Regions from separate parts of the Homo sapiens genome. Here region 2 is linked to region 1. Evidence: promoter capture Hi-C in 16 types of primary human blood cells and fetal thymus (Javierre and others, 2016). All regions are on one chromosome and are shown on one strand. The core of a region is centred on a gene start or on the middle of the fragment in contact, and the rest is flanking DNA. Distances in the headings are between cores, read along the strand shown. Region 1 holds the start of RHOV (ras homolog family member V). Region 2 has its middle 4.5 kb from the start of TRS-GCT4-2.

What was found. The method cuts DNA at HindIII sites, captures the fragments that hold promoters and counts their contacts. A CHiCAGO score of 5 or more calls a contact.
Region 2: a contact is called between a fragment that was not itself captured here and the fragment with the promoter of RHOV in region 1, in 1 of 17 cell types (M0 macrophages). The highest score is 5.0, in M0 macrophages.

Annotation. Positions count from the first base shown.
Region 1 is chr15:40,870,141-40,875,488 of GRCh38, reverse strand. It overlaps RHOV (ras homolog family member V), which reads left to right and starts at 1,255. Exons shown (of 3, transcript NM_133639.4): 1 at 1,255-1,557; 2 at 1,747-1,805; 3 at 1,988-3,275. The coding sequence starts at 1,350. The coding sequence ends at 2,431. It overlaps LOC124903475 (a long non-coding RNA gene), which reads right to left and starts at 1,747. Exons shown (of 2, transcript XR_007064600.1): 1 at 1,566-1,747; 2 at 901-1,179. RefSeq lists a silencer at 1,201-1,720 and an enhancer at 3,359-3,648. The HindIII fragment of the contact is 13,617 bases long and covers 1-5,348 here.
Region 2 is chr15:40,586,557-40,592,239 of GRCh38, reverse strand. No RefSeq gene overlaps it. Among named protein-coding and RNA genes, the nearest start is that of TRS-GCT4-2, 4.5 kb to the left of the region's middle. RefSeq lists an enhancer at 2,019-2,068. The HindIII fragment of the contact is 2,500 bases long and covers 2,243-4,742 here.

The DNA of each region.
Region 1 (5,348 bases), core at 6-2,505:
AGCCTCCCAAAATGCTGGGATTACAGGTGTGAGCCACTGCGCCCAGCCTATTTTTTATTTATTTATTTATTTATTTTTGAGACAAAGTCTGGCTCTGTTGCCCAGGCTGGAGTGCAATGGCATGATCTCAGCTCACTGCAACCTCCACCTCCCAGGTTCAAGCCATCCTCCCACCTCAGCCTCCGAGTAGCTGGGATTACAGATGCACACCACCATGCTTGGCTACTTTTTTTGGGGGGTTTTTTGTTTTTGTTTTTTAAGAGAGAGTCTTGCTCTGTCACCCAGGCTGGAGTGGAGTGGCCCAATCTTGGCTCACTGCAACCTCCACCTGCCAGGTCCAAGTGATTCTCCTGCCTCAGCCTCCTGAGTAGCTAGGATTACTGGCACCCGCCACCACACCTGGCTAATTTTTTGTATTTTTAATAGAGACGGGGTTTCACCATGTTGGCCAGGCTGGTCTCGAACTCCTGACCTCAGGTGATCCACCCACCTCGGCCTCCCAAAGTGCTGGGATTACAGGCGTGAGCCACGGAGCCCAGCAACAGCAGGCTATTAATAGTTAAATTTTGGGGTAGTCAAAAGTTATATAGGGATTTTCGGCTGACTGCACAGGGTTTCTCGCCCATAATTCCCGCTTTGTTCAGGGGTCAACAGGTTTTTTGTTTGTTTGTTTGTTTTTAGGATCTGTCACACATGCTGAAGTGCAATGGCACTATTATAGCTCACTGTAACCTTGAACTCCTGGGGTCAAGTGATCCTCCTGGCTTAGCCTCCCAGAACGCTGGAATTACAGGCATGAGCCACTGCTCTCAGCCTCAATATTTAAAAAAGTAATTCTTTCATTAATAAAATTATCCCAACTTTTTAATACTCATGCAAACATATGCATAGAGTTGTTTCTTGTAAGTTGAACAAGGTTTAATTTGCACACTTGTTTAACCTGAACATACTGTATTATATGTTCTGCAACTTGCTTCTTCCTCCTAACAATAAATCATGGATGTCTATCTCTTCTTGGTATTCTCATTTGACGATTCTTTGTCCTTGTACCTGCGTGACTCTTGGAGCTCCAGCTTTCTGCCTGCCTTTCCTCCTCCCGGGGTTTTCCTCCTCCTCGCCTGGCCTCGCAGGGTGCCTGGCCGCGGGAGATCTTCGCCGATGGGTGGGGTCCGGGGCCGCCTGAAACATGTAGATGAGATGGGCGGGGCCCTACACAAACCCGCTGGTAGCGCTGGGCCGACTCGCCCAGCCTGGACCCATTCAGTCAGAGGCAGCCAGCGGGACCTGCTTCACCGAGCGCAGCGAAGCCGAGACCCGGGCTGGCCCCTCTGCTGCCCCCGGAGCGGGCCATGCCGCCGCGGGAGCTGAGCGAGGCCGAGCCGCCCCCGCTCCGGGCCCCGACCCCTCCCCCGCGGCGGCGTAGCGCGCCCCCAGAGCTGGGCATCAAGTGCGTGCTGGTGGGCGACGGCGCCGTGGGCAAGAGCAGCCTCATCGTCAGCTACACCTGCAATGGGTACCCCGCGCGCTACCGGCCCACTGCGCTGGACACCTTCTCTGGTACGTACGTTCAATCGCCCGTGCGGCCGCGTGGCTGCGGCGGGGCTGTGCACCGGGGAGCTGGGGCGGGCGTCTCGGCGGGAGGGCGCAGAGGACCCCGGGGAGGAGACTGGAGCAGGCCCCGAGGTGGCGCTGGTGCGGCCCAGGACGCTCTTCCTAACTCAGGCTCTCCCCGCCCCGCCCCTGCAGTGCAAGTCCTGGTGGATGGAGCTCCGGTGCGCATTGAGCTCTGGGACACAGCGGGACAGGTGAGAAGCTGGGCGCGGCCTCTACTGGTCTGCGGGGAGATGGGCTGGAGGCTGGGAGGACCCCATATGGAGCAAATGGAGAAAGCCTTGGGCTCTTGGAGTCTCAGGTTTCCAGCCCCGGGTGAGAAATGGATTCCATGTGTCGGGGGGCTAATCCTTACCACCTGGCCTTCCCACCCCAGGAGGATTTTGACCGACTTCGTTCCCTTTGCTACCCGGATACCGATGTCTTCCTGGCGTGCTTCAGCGTGGTGCAGCCCAGCTCCTTTCAAAACATCACAGAGAAATGGCTGCCCGAGATCCGCACGCACAACCCCCAGGCGCCTGTGCTGCTGGTGGGCACCCAGGCCGACCTGAGGGACGATGTCAACGTACTAATTCAGCTGGACCAGGGGGGCCGGGAGGGCCCCGTGCCCCAACCCCAGGCTCAGGGTCTGGCCGAGAAGATCCGAGCCTGCTGCTACCTTGAGTGCTCAGCCTTGACGCAGAAGAACTTGAAGGAAGTATTTGACTCGGCTATTCTCAGTGCCATTGAGCACAAAGCCCGGCTGGAGAAGAAACTGAATGCCAAAGGTGTGCGCACCCTCTCCCGCTGCCGCTGGAAGAAGTTCTTCTGCTTCGTTTGAGCAGCTATGGCTGCATAGCAAGTAGTAGGCAGGAGGCCAAAGACTTCTGAGACCTGGGGCACCCGGGCCTTTGCGGCAGCTACTGGCAGGGCCTGGCCACCTCATAGGACTCAGTTCCCTTCTGAACACTCGGGGGACATGGGCCTCTAACTGCCCACTCTGATATGCCTGGGTGAGCCTAGGAGGGAAGGCTCTGATTTGGATTTCTCCAGTCAAAGCTCACAGAAAAAAACCTGGCACTTTGATTTTCATGGGATGGTCCTAACAGGGTCAGTCACCTCCGAGCAGTTTGGGAACCCAGTTTCTTGTCCTGGGCCCTCAGGTCAGCCTGGCTGAATTAGGACCCTTCCTTGGCACAGGGGTGAGAAAGAGCTTGGGGAACGCTTGGCATTATGGAGGGCTGGAAGGGGCTCAACCCCGATTTGGAGAGAAGTTTGGGATGGAGTGGGCGAGAGATTGAGAGAGCGAGCAGGAAAAGAGGTCTTGGAGCCTGGGACTGATGGTGGATAAGGCCTGGAAAGAAGATGACGAGGAGGAGGAGAGAGGGAAGTGGGGTGGATGAGGAGCAGGCTGACACCTGGGCTGCCCTCAATCCCCAAGGCCAGGGAGGGCGGGGCTGGCCCCTGGGAAGAACTGGGTCTCTGGGCTCCCTAGGCACTGCCCAAACTGGCTGAGCCAGGAGTGGGGCAGGAAGTGAGAGTCAAGGCCCAGCAAAAGGAGGGGGAGGAGCTGCAAATTAGAACCTGAAGGAGGACCGGGTTGGGGATCATCCCTTTCCTCAAGGTCACACAGCCTAGAAGCTAGAGCAGTGCAGAGTCTGCAAATAAAACCTTAAGTCTGTGAAGGCGTGCGTTGTCTCTGTCATTTCCTGGAGCCCACTCCTCCCTCAGAACCCTCCTCAAGGCCTAACTGCCTGGCTAGAGACAGATTGGGGACCAAAGGACTGAGGCTAGATTGAAAGGTGGGGGCTGGACTGGGGGTGGGGGCAGTGTAATGGGAACTGGACTGTGGGGGTAGGTGTGGAGCTCCCCGCTTGGGGCTCAGCTGGTTCCCAGGAGAGCTAGCGTGGGAAGCGGCCTGGAAACGGGTTTCCCCAGGTGTCAGCGCCAGAGCTGGTTTCCCATGACCTCACCTGGTGGGTGGAGCCCCTCCCCTCCACCCCTCCTTTCTAGAGCACCATGCTCAGCACTGGAGCTCAAGGTCAGTCCCCAGCCTTCTAACTTTTCTGCTCTGTTCCTTCTGGCAGTTCACAGGGCCCTGGGGCTCAGGTTAGGGGACCATCCCCCCCTCCGACCTCTATTCACAGCCTGAACATAAAGGGAACCCATACAGCCTAAACCTCAATCACTGGCCAAAGTTCTTAGACTTGGGTTGGACCCAGTCTTCAGCCTTGGCACCTAAGGAGCTAGTGAAGGTCAGGGTGCTGCTTGTGAACAATTTAAATAGAGGTTTATCCCCAAGTATCCTGTGCAAGAGCGAGTTCATTGGGAGAGGACTTGGAGAGGAGCAGGGATCTGGAGAACATTCCCTCATGTTGGAGCTTGAAGGGACTTTGAAGGACACCCAGGGAGAAAATGAAACAAAACAAAACTTACTTTACCATAAGGAGACTGAGGACCAGACAGAAAAGGTAATAGCTTAAATGATATGTATCACCCAGTGACTGTAAGAGCACTTTGCAAACTCTAGAGTTGGATACAGGGGTATGTGTTACTCTGGGAGAGGAATTTCTTTCTTTCTTTTTCTTTTGAGGTAGAGTCTCGCTCTTTCACCCAGGCTGGAGTGCAGTGGCGTGATCTTGGCTCAGTGCAACCTCTGCCTCTTGGGTTCAAGCGAGTCTCCTCCTTCAGCCTCCTGAGTAGCTGGGATTACAGGTGTGCGCCACCATGCCTGGCTCATTTTTGTATTTTTAGTAGAGATGGGGTTTCACCATGTTGGTCAGGCTGGTCTCGAACTCCTGACCTTGTGATCTGCCTGCCTCAGCCTCCCAAAGTTCTGGGATTACAGGTGTGAGCCACTGGGCTCAGCTGGGAGAGGAATTTCTGAGGCACACCTGGCACACCTGCTAGGCAGCTGCTGGGTCAGATGAGCACTCATGCCCTGGCCCAGCCCACCTCTGAGCCCATCTCCCTCTGCAGGAAGCTACAGCTGTGTGTGTGTGTCTGTGTGTGTGTGTGTGTGTATGTCTGTCTGTCTGTCTGTCTCTGTCTGTGTCTGTGTGTGTGAAAGAGCATGGCTGAGGGACAGAAATCCCAGCCAAGTGAAACTTCAGATAATCCCCAAGTTTAGTTTTAGCCAAGACTGTCCACTTCCTGCCCCACCAGGGCCTGTCCCCAGAGCTCCAGCCAACTGGAGCTCCTTCTGTTCCCTTTACCCTTCAGGTGGAGGTGCTGAGGGTCTCACACCCCAGCAGCATGGCCTGTTGTTACCTCAACCCAGCCTGACACACTCCCCTCTGGGGCAGAAACCTGGGTTCAAGTTCAGACTCTGACACCAACCATGACCTTAGGCAAATAATTTCCCTTCTCTATGCCTCAGTCTTCATTTGAAAAATGAAGGACTCAGGACTCAGACTGGGTTTGAGGTTCTTAAACTTGTTCTGAGGGGCCTTGGACGTGCCTTGGGGTGGGGATCATCCCCCACAAGGGGGTTATCCTTGTACCCGCCCCCACCTCCAACTTCTTCCCTAATTCTCTCTTGTGGTACTAGTATATCCATGTCACCCAAATTGAAACCTCGGTCACCATGCCTCCTCTCTTGCTGGGTCTCCAAGTCTGGTCAGGACCTCTGTCACCCACACCCCAAGGTCCCTGCCACTGCAGCTCCCCACTCCAATCTGTCCCGTGCTGCTGTGTTCACTCTGGCATCCCCCAACTCAAGGCTCAAGACTGTTACTGGCTCTCACTGTTGATGATGA
Region 2 (5,683 bases), core at 2,243-4,742, 290 kb after region 1:
CATGCCACTGCATTCCAGCCTGGGCGACAGAGCAAGACTCCATTTCAAAAAAAAAAAAAAAAGTGCATGCATTATTATATTATTACATCACAAACTTTGAGAATATTTTGGCAACTATTCCAACAAAATTGGTTGCCTTTGTATTCTAACATATTTAATTTTATACATTTAAAAACAACATTCTGGCCAGGCATGGTGGCTCATGCCTGAAATCTCAGGAGCAGCCCTTGAGTCCGGGAGTTCAAAGACAGTCTGGGCAACATAGTGAGGCCCCTGTCTCTACAAAAAAATTTAAAAATTTAATCAAAATTTAAAAAAAATTCTGAGATGAGATCCTTAGACTTCCCCAGACTGCCAAAAGGGTCTGTGTCACAAAAAAAAGGTTAAGAGCCCCTGAGAGAGACCTTTCTAAATCTCCCTGGAGACACAGATCTACCTTTCCTTGAACTAGGATTTTTTCTCTTTCCACAACACGTTTGTAGATACCGTCCCTGCTCCTCTCCCTGCAACATACCCCTGACCCCACCCTCTTCTTTCCCATCATGTCACTGCCTGGGCGGCTCCTGCTTCTCCTTCGGATCTGAGCTTAGAGGTCACCCCCATCAACAAGCCCTGCAACCTGCAGCTCCCTCTTCCATTTCAACTAGCCCGTGCGCTCTCTCTTGCTTCTGGACCTTTGTAACCCTCCTAGACGCTTCTGTGGCCTGCTAGGCTTTTCCCAGCACTTGCCAGGGAAGTGCTGGGAATGCATTTGTAAATACATTTTTATTTACATTGCCCATTAGTGCTGCAACTTCTCTAGAGACGCCAGGGCTGCATCATTTTCCTGAGGTTTGCCAGCTTCTTGCAGTGATAACTATAGGTCTATCAACGTCTGTGCAGAGCATGGGTAGACTTTTTTTTTTTTTTTTTTGAGACAGGGTCTCGCTCTGTCGCCCAGGCTGGAGTGCAGTGGCACTATCTCCGCTCACCGCAACCTTCACCTCCCAGGTTCAAGCAGTTCTCCTGCCTCAGCCTTCCAAGTAGCTGGGATTACAGGTGTGTGCCACCACGCCCTGTTAATTTTTGTATTTTTAAGAGAGACTGGGTTTCACTGAAGAAGGAATTCATGAATTTTACAAGTATAATCAAAGACAACCGAAAATTTTTACTTTTTCCTTCAAAAGCTAAGTGTAGTGTAGCCACCTCCCCCCCGCCCCGCCCCCAGCCAAGTTAGAGAAGACCCCCGGCCAAGTTAGAGAAGAATACTAACTGCCTGCTTTTCCTTCTGTGCTCGGCGAGCCTTATCTGTACTTGCTAGTTTCACATTCCTTGAGGCTCAGCGAGTTCCTGCTTCCCCTCCCTAGGGCAGCTGCAAAGTTATAAGGTTGGTACAGAAACATGGTTTCCCAGGGATGTGGAACGTGTAGTATAGATAAATGTAAAAGACTGATCAACTGTCTTTGTTCTCGCTTCTGTAAGTACCCTTCCTGCATCACGTTGCTCCCGGCCACTGACTGCGTAAAACGTGGCTACTTTCTTTGTCTGGGGCTCAGACTTTCCTGGAGGCTAGTCCTACTGGGCCAAGTGACCACCTTTTAATAAAGACCTTTCCTGAACTCACTCTGTTCGGTCTCTCCCATCTTTTGATTGTCCCGCAACATCACCATGTTGGCCATGCTGGATGGGACGGCGTGCTGCATGGGCTGGGAAGATTATTTTTTCAAAGGAAAATCTTCAGCTGTATAAGTTATGAAAATGAAATGTACTGGCAGAATATAGAGGAAAAAAAAGAAAAAAATTGTGAGTTGAAAACTCACTTTTTTAGGCTGAGTACAGTGGCTCACACCTGTAATTCCAGCACTCTGGAAGGCTGAGGTGGGAGGATTGCTTGAGTCCCGGAGTTCGAGACCAGCCCAAGCAACATAGGGAGAATCTGTCTCAAGAAAGAAGGAAAGAGAGAGAAAAAGAAAGACAGAAAGAAAGAGAAAGAAAAAGAAAATAAGAAAGAAAGAAAGACAAGAAAGAAAAAAGAAAGAAAGAAAGAAAGAGGCTGGTGTGGTCGCTAGCGCCCGTAGTCCTGCGAGGCTGAGGTGGGAGGATCGCTTGAGCCCCGGAGGTTGAGGCTGCGGTGAGGCGTGATCGGTCCACTGCACTCCAGCCTGGGCGACACAGCGAGACTCCGTCTCAAAAAAAAAAAAAAAAAAAAAAAAGTCAAGGGAAAGAAAAAGAAATACTTCAATTAGAAACGGAAAGAGAAGCTTGTAAGAAGCTGACAGGAAAAGAGTTAGAGGCGCCATCTACTGGAGCAGCTGCAACTGCAAGACTCGGACAAGATGCTCTTATCTACAGGGATGGATGCTCTCGTCTACCGAGATGGATGCTCTCGTCTACAGAGATCTCCATTAACTCCCCAAATTCTTCAACAAACCACAGCTCAAAGAAACCGTTCTCTACCAACACCAACGTTCTTCCTTGCAAGTACTATCCTCAACTATTGCAGGACACCTCAACCTCTGGAAGACCACAGCAAAGGACTGTTGCATAAATATCTTACCAAGATATTCCAGCTCTTTTACTATTGGAGTGTTAGGCAATGCGTCTTCATTATCTGGGGCCAGCTTTAAGAGGACCAATTCCCTCTTTTGAAAATGAGGTTCTCTGGGAATCAATGGCCAATGTTTATTATGAAATAATAAACTGGTCCACAGCCCAGACAGGCTGTGTGTGTCAGCAGCAGCCCTTATATGACATAGCTCTGAAGGAAGAATTGAAATCAATGCTTTGTTTTTGTTTGTTCGGTTTGGCTTTTTTTTTTTTTTTTGACACATCTAAAGTTTATTTCTTAACTCTTGCAAGAAAAACCCAGACCTCAGGCTCCAAGACTTGCAAAGACTGGTTTTGAGAGGCAGGCAATGACAGAAGTGAAGTCAATTTGTTCCTTACCATTAGGTTCTCCCACTGGAGAACCATCTCTGGGAACACAGTGATGACAGGGTCTGGAGAGGTTCCATAGTGAATCCATGCATTCTGCTCTGAGTCTACAACACCGACCCAAAACGTTTTTCTTTTCTAAAATCATTCCCTGAGATGTACTCTATCGTGTGAAAATACTACAACAACTTCTAGGAATGTCTAGTGAACTGAAAACTAAATAACATTTTCATATTGAAGATCAGTAGAGCAAAACGGAAATCCAGTTTTAGTAACATTGTCTAGGAAAGCCAAGATGAATGAGTAAATGCCAAAGACTCAGGGAAATAGGGAATAACACTTTATGGTATATCCCAAGCTGAGGTAGTGATGGATAGTTAGCCAGTTGTTTATCTGATCGTTTTCTTTTTTCCTTTTTTTTTTTTTGTGAGACAGAGTCTCACTCTGTCACTCAGGCTGGAGTGCAGTAGCGCGACCTTGGCTCACTGCAACCTCCGCCACCCAGGTTCAAGCGATTCTCTCATCTCAGCTTCCTGAGTAGCTGGGATTACAGGTGCGCGCCACACCACACCCAGCTAATTTTTATATTTTTAGTAGAGATGGAGTTTCATCATGTTGGCTAGGCTAGTCTCAAACTCCTGACCTCAGGTGATCTGCCCCGCTCAGCCTCCCAAAGTGCTGGAATTACAGGTGTGAGCCACCGTGCCTGGTCTAGAATTCTGATTTTTAAATTATTGAATAACACAGAAACTTGACATCTGAAAAAATGTTTTGTTTTTGTTTTGATTTTTTAGCTTTAAAAAACTGAAATAGTTCCTTAATGTCAGTTTCTGGGAACTCACTGAAAGGATCACTTCCAATCAACTCTCCTTTCAATGACTGTCAGTAGTCATTTTTTATATAACCTAGGAGGTATCAGAGGTGGCCTTTATTTCAGCCCAAGATGCAAGGCTTTAAAATTCTTTTTTGAGGCCAGGTGCCATGGCTTATGCCTGTAATCCCAGCATGTTGACAGGCCAAGGCAGAAGTTCTGCTTGAGGCCAAGAGGTCGAGACCAGCCTGGGTAATACAGTGAGACCCTGTCTCTACAAAAAATGAAATTAAAATTAAAAAAATTAGCCAGGCGGCTGGGCACGGTGGTTCACGCCTGTAATCCCAGCACTTTGGGAGGCCAAGGCAGGCAGATCACCTGAGGTCAGGAGTTCGAGACCAGCCTGGCCAATGTGGCAAAAAAACCCATCTCTACTAAAAATACAAAAATTAGCCAGGCATGGTGGCATGCACCTGTAACTCCAGCTACCCAGGAGGCTGAGGCAGGAGTATCACTTAAACCCAGGAGATGGAGGTTGCAGTGAGCCGAGATTGTGCCACTGTACTCCAGCCTGGGAAACAGAGTGAGACTCTACCTCAAAAAAAAAAAAAAAAAAAATTAGCCAGGCATGGGTGTGCACACTTGTGGGCCCAGCTACTCGGGAGGCTGAGGCAGGAGGATCATTTGAACCCAGGAGTTCCAGGTTGCAGTGAGCCTTGATCATGCTACCGTACTCCAGCCTGGGTGACAGGCTGTCTCAGAAAAACCCAAAAAATTTTGCTTAAACAACAAAAATTTATTGTCTCCCAGTTCTGGAGGCTAAAGTCTGAGATCAAGGTGTCAACAGGGTTGGTTCCTTAGGAGGGGTGTGAGGGAGAATCTATTTCATATCTCTCATCTAGCTTCTGTAGTTTACTGGCAGTTTCTGGCATATCTTGGCTTATAAAATGACTAATCCTTGCAATTTTGCTTCAGTTGTGATTCTGGAAGATTTGGCATTTAGATCAGATATAAAGCTTTCCTTTTAAAATTCCTAACCTACTTTAACTTCAACATTTGGAATGTTGGAAAGAAAAAAGAACCAGAATAATTGCATCACTTATTATTTACTTGAATTACTAAAACATTTTCAAGAACCTTTTGTCTAGATGTCTTGGTAATGAAGAGATAGAAGATGCAAGTTCTTGGGCTCTTTGTGTCGGAGAGCATGCGGGGTCTAGAATTCCAAAGCCATGAACTGCTTTTAGATCCCTCAGTTCTTTTATGATGGAGAAGTTGTATTTGAATCTGCTAAGGCAAATTAAAGCAGTTAGTCATTTTTGCAAATTATTATTATTATTATTTTTGAAACGGAGTCTTGCTCTGTCGCCCAGGCTGGAGTGCACTGGCGCTATCTCAGCTCACTGCAAGCTCCACCTCCTGGGTTCATGCCATTCTCCTGCCTCAGCCTCCCTAGTAGGTGGACTACAGGCGCCCGCCACCATGCCTGGCTAATTTTTTTTTTGTATTTTTAGTAGAGACAGGCTTTTACCGTGTTAGCCAGGATGGTCTCGATCTCCTGACCTCATGATCCGCCCACCTCAGCCTCCCAAAGTGCTGGGATTATAGGTGTGAGCCACCAAGCGCCTGGCCCATTTTTGCAAATTATTAATTATTGCTTACCATTATAGTCTCCAAAATACTAGGTGTATGGTGTTATCTTTCCACCACTGGTGAAAACAACCCATGGTCTAGGCACTTTGGAGTAGCACCCACCAGCTGTGTGAAGGTCAAATGGATCTTAAAGAGTTGTGCAGTGGGACTGAAAGAGGAGAGTCACTATTTCAGAGATAACCAAATGTTAAAAAAAAGAGGTGAGATATTTTAATATTTGTTGTTTAAAAGTTTTATCTTGATAGTATTACACAATTATACAATACATACATACGTAATGTAATATGCATGTACAGTTTAAAAATA